3 separate regions of the Homo sapiens genome follow, and all the other regions are linked to region 1. Evidence: promoter capture Hi-C in 16 types of primary human blood cells and fetal thymus (Javierre and others, 2016). All regions are on one chromosome and are shown on one strand. The core of a region is centred on a gene start or on the middle of the fragment in contact, and the rest is flanking DNA. Distances in the headings are between cores, read along the strand shown. Region 1 holds the start of ALLC (allantoicase). Region 2 overlaps LOC105373404 (a long non-coding RNA gene). Region 3 overlaps LOC105373404 (a long non-coding RNA gene).

Evidence for each region. Contacts are between HindIII fragments. The CHiCAGO score rates a contact against its expected background, and 5 or more counts as called.
Region 2: a contact is called between a fragment that was not itself captured here and the fragment with the promoter of ALLC in region 1, in 1 of 17 cell types (M2 macrophages). The highest score is 6.9, in M2 macrophages.
Region 3: a contact is called between a fragment that was not itself captured here and the fragment with the promoter of ALLC in region 1, in 4 of 17 cell types (M1 macrophages, M0 macrophages, M2 macrophages and 1 more). The highest score is 8.3, in M1 macrophages.

What each region holds. Positions count from the first base shown.
Region 1 is chr2:3,656,194-3,660,324 of GRCh38, reverse strand. ALLC (allantoicase) reads right to left here and starts at 2,125. Exons shown (of 12, transcript NM_018436.4): 1 at 2,031-2,125. RefSeq lists a silencer at 1-256. The HindIII fragment of the contact is 6,896 bases long and covers 1-4,131 here.
Region 2 is chr2:6,787,275-6,791,405 of GRCh38, reverse strand. It overlaps LOC105373404 (a long non-coding RNA gene), which reads left to right. Exons shown (of 4, transcript XR_922745.3): 3 at 438-531. Among named protein-coding and RNA genes, the nearest start is that of LINC00487, 19 kb to the right of the region's middle. The HindIII fragment of the contact is 2,525 bases long and covers 723-3,247 here.
Region 3 is chr2:6,770,061-6,774,191 of GRCh38, reverse strand. LOC105373404 (a long non-coding RNA gene) reads left to right here. Exons shown (of 4, transcript XR_922745.3): 4 at 809-1,369. It overlaps LINC00487 (long intergenic non-protein coding RNA 487), which reads left to right and starts at 3,881. Exons shown (of 6, transcript NR_038369.1): 1 at 3,881-4,113. RefSeq lists an enhancer at 1-1,025. The HindIII fragment of the contact is 1,788 bases long and covers 1,293-3,080 here.

The sequences.
Region 1 (4,131 bases), core at 876-3,375:
ACGGCGCTAGCATATGCTTCCAGCGAGGGCCTCAGGCTGCTTCCACTCCTGGTAGGAAGTGAAGGGAGCCGGCGTGCAGCCACCACAGGGCAGAAGAGGAAGCGTGGGAGGGACGCCAGGCTCCTCCTAACAAGCAGCTCTCACCAGACTAACAGAGGAAGAACCGTCTCACCACCTCCAGAACGGCACCAAGCCATTCATGAGGGATCCGCCCCCATAACCCAGACTCCTCCCGCTGGGCCCCACCTCCAACACGGGGGATCTGATTGCACCATGAGGTTTGGGGGGACAAACATCCAAACCATAGCACCCCACAACCTCAAAGGCTGTTATGTGAAAAGTCTCCCCACCCCTAAGATAAAAAAATGTGAGAAAGGAGAGACCGTTTAAAGCTGGGCCTCCAGGCCACAGCACAGGCCCAACCAGTGTCTGCTGTGAAAGGGCCGTGACATTTGTCTTTCCTAAGTTTCTCTCCTCAGCCACAAATCCCAGAAGTATCCACAGTGGCCTGTGCTGTGCAGGGCCCCGTGGAGGTTCCCGAGAGATTCCAGGCAGCCAAGAGCTGGCGGTATAAGGGGCCGTTCTCAGCCCTGGTGGAGGTCACAGCTCCACGACTCTTGCGCCATGAGCTTGCTGAGCTCTCTGCTCACTGGTCCCTGCCGTTTCTGTTGATAAAATAGCCAAGGTCTAGGCAAGAAAGGAAGGAGCCACGCGACCTCGGCTGAGGCCACCAGCTCAGCAGCTCACAGTGCTCAGACAGCCTGTGGCAGCTGCTTCTAAGCTCATTGCTGCAACCCCTCCCACTGCCTGCTCAAGGGAGCTCTTAAATACATTTTCTGCTGTGGCTGAGACCAGACCCAGGGTCAGCTCTGATGTTTGAGGAACATGCTAAAGTTTTACCTGCAAATTTCAACTTAATCACCGCAAATGAGGAGCATTGTCATGGGTTACGGCAAGGCGATGAGGCAATGACTCTCTAAAATAGAGTCATGAAATTTCAGGCAGTCAAGTGGTGCTCACACTATTTTTTCTTTTGAGATTAGCCTTAAAATAAGAAAAGGCATGACCAGGCAAGTCTAGGAAGCACAAGAAAGAGAGACCTCCCTCTGACAAGCAGGGAAGGCTGTGCTGATGGAAGAGTTACTCCCTCGTAAAGAAGAAAACCTTCAGGGGCTTTGTCATCGCTGTCAATAAGTTCCGAAGAAGCCTTTGGCCAAAAGTATGAGATTTATGGTGAAATAATAAAAGTGGTTTGTTCAAATTTGGGACAAAATTAGAGTGACCTTGAGCAGGGACTCTGAGCAGCCCAAGGTCAACTGCACGAGACTCCTGACTACCGGCAACTCTTGGTATATATTTACATTTAGTTCTACTTTGTGACTCTTGTTTTGAATATAGGTTTACTTCACCATGGCCTTAGTTGTTTAGGTTTTTTTTTTTTTTTTTTTGAGACAGGGTCTCACTCTGTCATCCAGGCTGGAGTACAGTGGCATGATCTTGGCTCATTGCAACCTCCACCCCAATCCCATCCCGGGCTCAAGCAATTCTCCCATGTCAGCCTCCCAAGTAGCTGGGACCACAGGCACGCACCACCATGCCTGGCTATTTTTTTGATTTTTGGTAGAAATGGGGTCTTGCCATGTTGTTCAGGCTGGTCTCAAACTCCTCAACTCAAGCAATCCACCCACCTCGGCCTCCCAAAGTACAGGGATTACAGGCATGAGCCACCATGCCCAGCCTCTTTAGATTTTTTTTTAAGAAGGCCAAAGTCACATGATTTGAAACCAAACAGAGCAGTGACCAGAGCCCAGAAGCCTGACCCACCTGTGGGGCCCCTCCAGGTGTTTGGGCCACGCCCGGTACCAACACAGTTCAACGGCACAAAGTGGTGTCTGTCACCATCTACCCTCTGTCACCTTCCAAGTGTCGAGGGTTCGTTGCATGACTGAAATTCATCTCTGTCACCCTATTCTTTTGGCAAAGCCCACCTTAAAGATAGCAAGGTATTTATAAACCACACTCCAGCTCACCCAGCAGTCAGAAATCAAGTATTCATAAATGGATCTCTTGCTCCCCAGAAGCCAGCCAAGGTCCCACGGTGCTTGAGTGCCAGCTCAGAGAGAATGTATAGGGGCCTGAGGTAGAGACAGAACTTTGCAGAGATTGGCTGTGCCTGTATGATGTCACAAGGGTTGCAGAGAGGTGGAAGTAACAGGGGGAGCAGCCCCTCCCCGGAGAAGCCAAGCAGGCCTCTGCAAGACCCTCGCACAAGGCCCGAAGCCAGACATGGTCCCTGCTGGTCCCAGGGCCCTTCCCTGTCCCTAACAAAGCTGCCTCCGGCCACTGGCCTGGGCCTGAAACCCCCACCTTCCTGGTCCGGCCAGTAACCTGACTTAAAGTTTTATCTCTAGACGTCACCTATTCACTAATCATCATTAACTCAGAAAACACTGAGCACACCCAGCAGTGGGTCCTGACCTACTAGAGAAGACAGGGGCCCTTGGGAGGGTTTGGCTAGAGCCCCTCAGCCCCAGAAAAAGTAAATACACACAAAATTTTCATGGAATTTAAAGAAGCCCACAGATGCTTAAGAAAGGGCACCTTGCCAAGTGGATGCTAGGCCTGTGGCATACAAAACAACACGTGCCGCCTGCCTTCAAAGGCCCCACTGTCTGCAGAAGAACTTTCCATGCAGAAAGAAACAGCTGAGCCCGGCTTCGACATGCAGTAACAGACGTTGCCTTGCTTCACCACAGCCACCCTGCGGGGCAAGCTATCCACTCTGCAGATGAATCAGCTGGGGCCTTGAAGGCAGGAAAGCCACCCGAGGTCACCTGCGCAGGGAGGGACTGAGCTGGAACCAGAACCCAGCACAGCAGATGGCGCGCACAGGGGCCCTTGGGGCTCCAGAAAGACAACCTGCGTCCCAGGGAGATCCATCACCCACACGCTCCTTTTTCCTTCCTGGGTTTTCTTTCCCCAGGGCCTGACCGGCCTTCTCCTCCTGAACTCCAGCTTTCCCAGAGGAAAGCAAAGCCATTTGAAAGGCCGGCTCAAGGCCACCTCCAACTGAGAACCCCACCCCCAACCCCAGCCCGTCTCTCAGCCCCGCCACCCAGCCGTAGTTAGGATGCGTCCAGCGCCTGTTGTCTGATCTCAGCTCGCCCGGCCTTTGAGTCCATGTTTACACATCTGTCTGCCCATCCAGATGAAATTCTTTAAGAACGAAACCACATCCTATGCTGCCTTCCATAGCTGACTGTATTTTAATGAATTAATGCACGTGGCTTCGTCCCTGGCAGTTCTTGTCAGCCGTGACTTCCCCGCCACAGCAGTGCAGTGCCCCCGCTCGCCGCCTCGGATCAGTCACAAAGCTCACGGTGCGGAGAACAGAAGGGCCTATTTTTATCCTCGTGGTTTCGCTAAGCCTAGGCTGTGGCACCGATAAAGCCATGGAAGAAGGCACCCTGACCCCTGCCCTCCACACCCTGACCTCTGCCCTCCACACCCTGACCCCTGCCCTCCACACCCTGACCTCTGCCCTCCACACCGAGCTGGCTCCTACAATCTAATGTGCTTCCAAATCACCTACGAGCTGGTTAAAGTGCAGATTCTGACGCTGCAGATTTGAGATACGGCCTGAGGCTTGAGATTTCTCCAAGCTCCAGGGCGATGCTGGGGCTGCTGGGCCATGGCCAGAGGTTGAGCACAGGGCTCTGCCAGCTAGCTGCCCCATCCGACGTGGCAGCCACTAGCTATGCTAAATTCAATACTTCTCTAACGCTAAAATCAACTTAATTTAGTGAAGTTAAAAGTTTGGATGCTCTGTCTTATGAGGTAAGTTTCTAGTGCCCAACAGCCACATGCGGCAGAGGCGACAGGCTGGGCTGCACAGCTACAGAACTTTCCATCGTGGCACAGCAGACGTCCTGTGGACCCATCTGTGGGGCGGGAGGAGAACAAGAGCTGGCAGAGAGGTGGTCCCAGAGCAGTGGCCTGAGCCAGACGTGAGGCTGTTCTCGGAGCTCCGTAGGGGCTTCAACCCTCCTGCCTTGGTCCTGCCAAGACATGAGGATTCTCATGGAAAGGGCTGGAGCACCCTCAGAATAATGCCGCCATCCCCGGCCTCCC
Region 2 (4,131 bases), core at 736-3,235, 3.1 Mb before region 1:
TTCTTGCTTGCTTTCTTGCTTTTTTTTTTTTTCTTCCTCAGAGCCTCACTGTGTTGCCCAGGGTGGAGTGCAGTGGCACAATCTCAGCTCACTGCAACATCCGCCTCCCAGGTTCAAGTGATTCTCCTGCCTCAGCCTCCTGAGTAGCCAGGACTACATGTGCCCGCCACCACAACCAGCTAACTTTTGTATTTTTAGTAGAGACGGGGTTTCACCATGTTGGCCAGGATGGTTTCTTTCTTTCTTTTTTGACAGGGTCTCTTTCTTTTTTGACAGGATCTCTCTCTGTCACCCAGGCTGGAGTGCAGTGGTGTGACCTCAAGTCACTGCAGCCTCTGCCTCCCAGGCTCAAGTGATTCTCGTGCCTCAGCCTCCCAAGTAGCTGGGACTATAGGAACGCACCACCACACCTGGCTAATTTCTATATTTTTTTGTAGAAATGGAGGTCTCATCATGTTTCCCCGGCTGGTCTTAAACTTCTAGACTCAAGCATTCCTCCTGCTTCAGCATCCCAAAGTGCTGGGATTACAGGTATGAGCCACCCTGCCCGGCTTCTCAACCCACTTAACAGTAGCAACTGCCACCATTGCCATTTGCTGTCCTCATAATAATACTGTGGCATAGGTATTATTATTCCCATTTTGTGGGTAAGAAAATAGAGGTTCAAAAAGACTATGATTTGCCTAAATTAATAATTCGGTAATAATTGAAAATAACAAGCTTTAAGTGCTTATGTGCCATATAGTGGGTTAAGTTTTTCATATAGATCGTCTCATTTAATTCTTTAAAAACCCCATGTCAAACCCCATTTGACAGATGAAGAAGTGAGTCTAAGAGAGATATAATTAATGACAGAGCGGGATTTGAACCTTATTGACTCTATTTTAACTGCCAGCCTTGCTCCATATTTCATTTTCTGAAATATTATCCCAAATAGTTCAGTAACTGGCAGTTATTATTATTGTCACTTTTAAAAAAGTGTTAAAATTTTGGGGAAAAACTCCACTTTATTCCCAGTCTGGCCCCTAAGGCTTGTTCTTTTATTTTTAATTGGCAAACAATAACCCCTCTGCTTTCTTGAAAGGAAACTAGATATTGTAGGAGGCAGCATCAGTTTGCCTGCCTTTCCCAGAGATAAGACCACTGAAATGCATACTTTGTGCAGGTGAATACAGATTAAAAGCTGACTAGATGATAGTAAAAATGGAAATAAATAAAATGACAATTTGTCTCATTTCATATTTGTCTAATTACTCCAGTTGAGATATAAATGTGTCACAAAAATATAGCTTTTACTCACTCATATTTTGCATCTTAATTTCCCAGTTCAGCTTTTTCTGCCCCTAAGTATGTAACTCTTATATACTCCAGTGCTTTAGTAATAGCCTTATCCAAGCTATTGACATGAAAATAAGGAGTAATGTATACTCAATTGTACATAATAGGGTTGTAATTCCGTGGAGAGATGCCTGAGTGCTTTCCTAATGCCATGAGAAATTCAACGTGGAATTACAGGCTTGAGTTAATGTGCAAGAGTATCGGGTTGGTTCGTGTGCAGCTAGATGAGCTGACTTTTCTGCAGGATGCTACTACCAATGCAGCCCCTCTAGAGAGCAATGCTGAAGGGGAAGTAGAGGCTACAGCGAGGCCATCCACTCTTCATGATGCATTAGGATGTCCTGTTCCTGACATAGTCTGGCTGGCTTCATTACGCTCATCCTGCTACAAAGAATAAGACTCCAGGGATCTTCCTGGTGTAAAATGCATTCAATGGAGATTGACATTTCCAAATCATAACAACACAGTGCTCTATTCAATATGAGATATTTGTCAAGATTTTTATTAGTGAGTAGAAATTATGAGCTAGGCATTCATACTCCAGCAGAACATCTTGCTCTAATTATTAAGGGCTCTCATTTTTGGCCACAGTTGTATCCAACCAATACTAAATGACTTCATGTGAATCACCGTGCTAAGCTGTGGTGGTCATCTAGGTGTCCCCTGTACAAGTGTCTCAAAGGGAGCCCCACTGTGAATGTTTTGAGGGTACGTGAACCTGGGTATGTAGATCTGTGGGGGCTGGAGCAGTGTTGTTGGGTGGTAGAGCCAGAGCTGGTGTCAAGAGGAGCCAACATGCGAGCTAGAGCTGCATGAAAGGTTTGGTGGAGAGCTAGGAACGGATATGCAAGAAAAAGGATCAAGGATAGAAGATGAGAGGGTTGGAATAAGGATGGACTATGTATTAGTCCATTCTCACACTGTTACAGAGAACTGCCCAAGACTGGGTAATTTATAAAGAAAAGAAGTTTAATTACTCACAGTTCTGCATAGCTGGGGAGGCCTCAGGAAACTTACAATCATGGGAAAAGGGGAAGAGACACCTCTTACGTGGTGGCAGGTGAGAGAGAGAGTGTGTGAGCGAGAAGGGGAAACTGCCTTATAAAGTCATCTGGTCTCGTGAGAATTCACTATCACAAGAAAAGCATGGGGGAAACTGCTCCCATAATTCAATCACCTCCCTTCCTCAACACATGGGGATTGCAATTTCAGATGAGGTTTGGGTGAGGACACAGAGCCAAACCATGTCAGTCTGACATGCCTTAACTAGTCTGGGATTATGATTCATGACCAAGGATATGGAGGAACCCTGCAGCTTCCCTTAGGAGTACTTGATGTAAAGGAGTCCCATGAGGGCCAGGTACAATGGGAAGAGTGATGATCCACAAGAGTAATAATTTATATTTTATAATTTACAAAGTATTTTCACCTACATGATTTCCTGCAATTCTTACAAAACGCCATAAATTATAGGTATAGCACCTTAGGTCAAATAAGCTAGACCAATGGTTCTTAACATGGGATCCAAAAATATCTTGAAACTCCAAGCAGCCTTCAAGGTGGTGTTGTGTAGGCATTAGGAGCCTGGAGTTTGAGGCTGGGCCATGCGCATCCTGGCTCAGTTGTGCTAGCTGTGTGATCTTGGGCAAGTTACTTAACCTCCCTGGCTCAGGATCCCCATCTTTAAAACTAGAATCTAAATAATACTTATTATGATAATTCCTCCTAGTGTTGTTTAGATAATGTAGGGCCAAGGGGAAACTTCCGGTTTGCCCTATAAAGGTTCATTGAACATCAACTTTAAAAAGACAGATTCATAGGAGAAAAGCATACAAAACTTAATTTTCATTGCATAGCATGGAGAATCACAACAGAATGGTTGCCCAACAACCCAACGGGTACAGAAGCTTATATTCCCCTTTGCATAAGGGGAGGAGGAGATGGGGACTGGGGGCTTTTTTCTGAGGGGCAGCAAATAATTATTATGGAGAATAAATGGACAGAAATTAACTTGTAAATGATTCTTTTTTTTGGAATTTCAATGAGCCAGAGACACGGAAAGCAGGTGCTTTTGCGTTCCTCAGTCTTCTTTTCCCAGATAGACAATGAGATTTCAGGAAGGAGAAAAAAGCAATTGTGTTTCTTTTGGAAAGAAGCTTTCTTGATCAGATAAGGACATTCCAGGAGTCTCTCCATCCCTCCATGTGCTTGCTAGGGTCGTGGGTGAATAAGGCAATGTTAGAAGGACCTTGATTCTGAAGCAGCATATCAGGCCTCTCAGCATGGGAAAGCGCCATTTCTGAGGTACCACTTTCTGAGCTCCAACAATAATTAACTGACTTAATACTAAGGCACATAGTAATCCCTGCATGAGTTGTTCTCATTGCTCAATGCATTCTTCCTGCCCACTGCACAGACAAAACCAGTTCACTGAGACCATGGTACTGAAGTGAAGAAAGAGTTTAATGCTAGGGCAGCCACATGGAAGAACTGGAGTCCATTATTCAAATCAGCCTTTCCAAGAGCTCAGAGGTTGGGTTTTTATAGCCAATTTGGTAGACAGGAGTGCTGCTGATTGGCTGGGAGTCAGTCATAGGGGCGTGGAAAGTGGTCCTCATGTGCTGAGGTCCTCAGCTTCTGGGTGGAGACCACAGGACTGGTTGAGTCATGAGTCACAGGTTCATAGTTGATTACTAGAACCAAAAATCATGGAGTTGATTGCTAGAATGTAGAAATCTAAACAATATCTCAAAATACCAATCTTAGGTTCTACAATGGTGATGTTATCTGTAG
Region 3 (4,131 bases), core at 937-3,436, 3.1 Mb before region 1:
TGGGGAGAAGAATACAGGAAAATACAGAGATCCATCTTGACAACGTGATCAATCAGAAAACCTAGAAGTGAGAATCATCAGCTTTCATGGAGCGTTTGGAGAAGAGGCTTGTTGGCGCAGGAGGGCGGGGTCTGCGTTGCGCTTACAGGTCTGTAAAGAGAGAAAGGGGACATTTAGGCGGAAAGGTACAGTGGAAATGGCATTAGGAATAGAGGCAGGGGTTCAAAAGGAAGCTGGGTGGTAACAATACTCCCATTTCTTTCGAGTTCATCAATTAGAATCACTTTCTCTGCAAATTTGACTTCACAGGTGATCCGCTTCACAGATGAGGAGGCAGGAATGCCCACAGGGGATTCACCCATCGTCATCAGCCACACGCGGGAGATGTAGGGCCAGATTTCTCCCTCCATCTGTGTGATCCCCAATCCTGTGACACTCCTGCTTCCTTTTCCCGTAGTGGGGGAACTCCCTCCAAATGGAATTTCAGTTGCTTAGATCTTTGAATTGGATAGTACTACCTATGCTCACACTAATTAAACAATTAAGTCGATGCATTTAATTTTATTTTCCCCTGGAAGATGTAATCACCAGTATCGTTATTGAGGAGGGAGGAGGGGAGAAGAAAACTCCAAACAGCAGAAAACATTCCTGAGTTCTGTGCGCAGTGCCTTTGATGGGTGTGCTCAGATTTTTTTCATCGAGGTGGTTTTGAATCAGTTGCAGGCCTTCTTTCATGTGGGTAACTATTTAAAGATGTGATATTCGGGGCAAGCGTTTGTACCAACTCATTTTCTCTGTCTTCTCCCAGGCCGCTGAGGACCGCACAGGGGAGCGGGCGGCGGCATCGCGAGGACTGACCACTGGGTGGCACTGTTGCTCCATGGAGAGCTGCCAACGGCGTCCCCGGGGACCCGGCCACGTTGAGCACAAAAGGTGGGATTTCTAAGGTGTGCTCGGTGATGAGTTTCTTAATGAATTTACCTCTTCTATGGAATCTCCCTCTGCAGCGTCTCCTGCCGCCCGGGGCCGGTTTCTGACTGTGGACTCTGGGTTGAGCCCATGGGGTCAGTGCGCGTGGAGCTTGCACTGCCCAGACCCACAGCCCCAGGAGCAGCCACCTCCCGTGTCACCCGGGCGGCGTCCTGATGACATCACTTAGAAGATTAAAAATAAATTGAAGCACATGTCACCTTAAAGGGGGCACAAAAAGGACATCTGCATGATTTGATGCATCCATGAGAAAGGGCTGCTGGCTTTTGATTTAAACTGTTGGGAAAGAGGATTTTAAAGCTTGTAAGCTGCTAGTATTTCCAAAAGAATGACTATTTTTTATTTTTTATTATTTAAATTAAAAAAGCACTTCCCTGTTCCCCTGTCCCTACACTCTAATTCTTCTTGGCTTTGATTTGGGCGATATTGTAGGCAGCTTTCTGCTCCACGGTGAAGGTCTGCCCGAGGAAGGACGGGGACAATCTTGGGGAAGATGGGGGAGGCGGGGACCGATTTTCCAGCCCAGAGCTGGGGTCTGCAGAACCAGGAGCCCGGGCCAGGCTGGCCTATCAGCCATGACCATCTGTGCACCTTAGCCACCTACTCACAGCACAGCCTCCATCTGCAGATCCACCTAGGACTCATCCATTCCTGACTGGTCTTTTGTTTCAAAACCCGGCAGCCCCGGCCCCTCCCAAGCCTGAAGTCACCACACACGCCCATCCTCCCATCAGTCACTTCCTGGCTAATGGGGACTGAGGCCCAATCATTCTCGTTTTTCATGCCTTGTCAGAGGCCTGAACACAGAGACAGAGGAAGGGAGAGAGAGAGAGAGGGCAGCTCTGGAGGAGGCGCAGAGTATGGGCAGATGTCCTCATGAAAAATTTACAAGGAATAATCAGAGGCCCCTTCTCTCCCCTCTGGCCAAAGTCCCCCTAGGCTTGTTGCCCGGGCCGCTGTGAGAATATTGGAAAAGTCCCCCTCGTTTTGAAGGCAATCTGGTTCTGGGGGGTTAATGCCCAGCGTTGATGCACTTGGCTGTCCTCTTGAGACCGGGTTGCAAATGCAGTTCAGGCAAAATTGATGAAGTATCAGTTAATCTGAGGCTGACAGTTTAGAGAGGTCACAGCTGCGAGGGGCTGCCAGGGTCTCCCAGAGACAGGACTAAGAAGAGTTAAAGCCAGGGAGGGCCCGGTGAAAGGAAGCATTCATCTTCTTCGCCTGGGCATTTCTCAAACATTGCGCCTGCCAGGATCCCTGAGCCTCTCTCCAGGTGAGCAGTGTGAGTGGGGAGGCTTTCACTCTGGTGCGCACAGTCATGCCTCCTCCCAGACAAATCCAAACCCACATGCCTGGTGTTCCTGGCTCCTTGGGAAGGAAGAAGGAGGGAGTTGCTGCTCCTAATTGAAACAGGCAGTTAGGTCTCCTATGCAAATCCCCTTGCTGTAATTGGCACTGTGAGTGCCGCCTGCTCATTCCTCCGTTTCCCGCTAGGGGAAGGTCATCTTGGTAAGAGATGTGTCCACACGGGGTGGGCTCTGAGCTGCTCAGAAGGAACTCTGCAGAAGTGGGGAACCATTGACTCACACCCTTCCCATAGGTGGTTTCCTTCAGGCTCCAGCAATTTTTTACAACAAGGTGGTACAATGAGAAAAATACCGCTCTGCTGTTAGACCACATATTTCAATCCTTGTACTTCCTAAGAGTTCTGATAGTCCAAGAGGCTGGGGGCTATGGCCATGTTTCTCACTCGAATTGCCCTGGTACTGAAATGCATCACGTGTAGGGGAGACTCAGTGTTTGTGAGCACACACTGAGTGACTATAACTGAGTGATTTCAGAGAGACAGAAGAAGGCATGCAAATGCACTTGTCTTGAGTTGTTTTCTAGGGGACATGCTCAGGGCTCTGGGACCTACCTAGTCATCTCGCTGCCTGGAGAGGCGGCTGCTTGGCCATGTTATCTCCATGCCTTCTAAATTAGGATGCGGCTTTAGGTTCACATTCATAAATAATTGGGTTTTATGGGATAGGAAGCAGCAAGGGCTTTGCGTTGATCGGCCCTGGGTTGGGTCCTGGCCTCCCTAAGCTTTGAGAATGATTTTATCATCACCATTGCCTGCTTATGGGAAAATAGGGCGGCAGTTAGTCGTGGAGTCCCTGTGACAAAGTGGCAGGTGGATGGCTGCGCCGGGGGTCTAACCTGCGCTGTCACACTCCGTTCCCTCTTCCTTTCAGTGACAAGAATGCAAGTAATAGTGCTGAGAATCGTGTGCTCAGCTGTGCTGGGCTGAGCATTTTATGTGCATGAACTCATCCCTCCCTGCGAACTTGTGAGAAAGGTATTATTATTATCATTATTAATATTATTATTACCGTATTCTCTCTGCTTACAGACAGAGAGATTGAGGTGTGGCAAGTAGGTAGTAAAATCCACCTTCTTCTTCTGTGAGGTTCCTCCTGTTCCCAGGGGTGTGGGGACGGTGAGTGGTGGATGGGTGAGGTCTTACAATGCAAAACTGCTGATTTCTACATCCGAAAAAAATCATGAATATGAACGATTATAGCCAGATTGAAACTATCATTATTTTCGGTAAGAAAAAGTGCGTCTATTCACAGAAAGTCAGGTACTTTTCCCCAAAATCACATGGGAAAAGTGTGCAAATACAGAACAGCCCTTCCAGGAAGGAACTATTTTCTCCGAAACAGGAAATTGTTGTACATTCAGACACACCATAAATACACGTCTAGTTTGTACATGGCAATTCCAGGGTCTGAGGCTCTTCCTTCCTGGCCCTAGAATGGCGTCTCTTGCGCTGTGGGCTTCCTGTTGAGGCAGGGGCTGAGGAGGTGGGAAGCAGAGGCTGAGATTTTCCTTCACCACGGTCACAGAAGATGCGCTGTTCCAGGGGCCTGGGTGGGAGCAGCCCAGGAGCCTGCGTCTCCCCTCCTCGGCCCTGGGAGGCGGCTGGACTGTGCCACACGGGACGGGTGCTGAGGGACCGCTGGGTGCCCACCTCCCTGACCCCTCCTGCAGGGGTGCCTGCCAAGCAGCCTGGGCACTGCCGTCTGGAAGATGCGCCGTGCCGGTTCTACACGGTGTTCCCTTGCTCCAGGCAGAAAGGTCAGTCCAGGCTTCTCA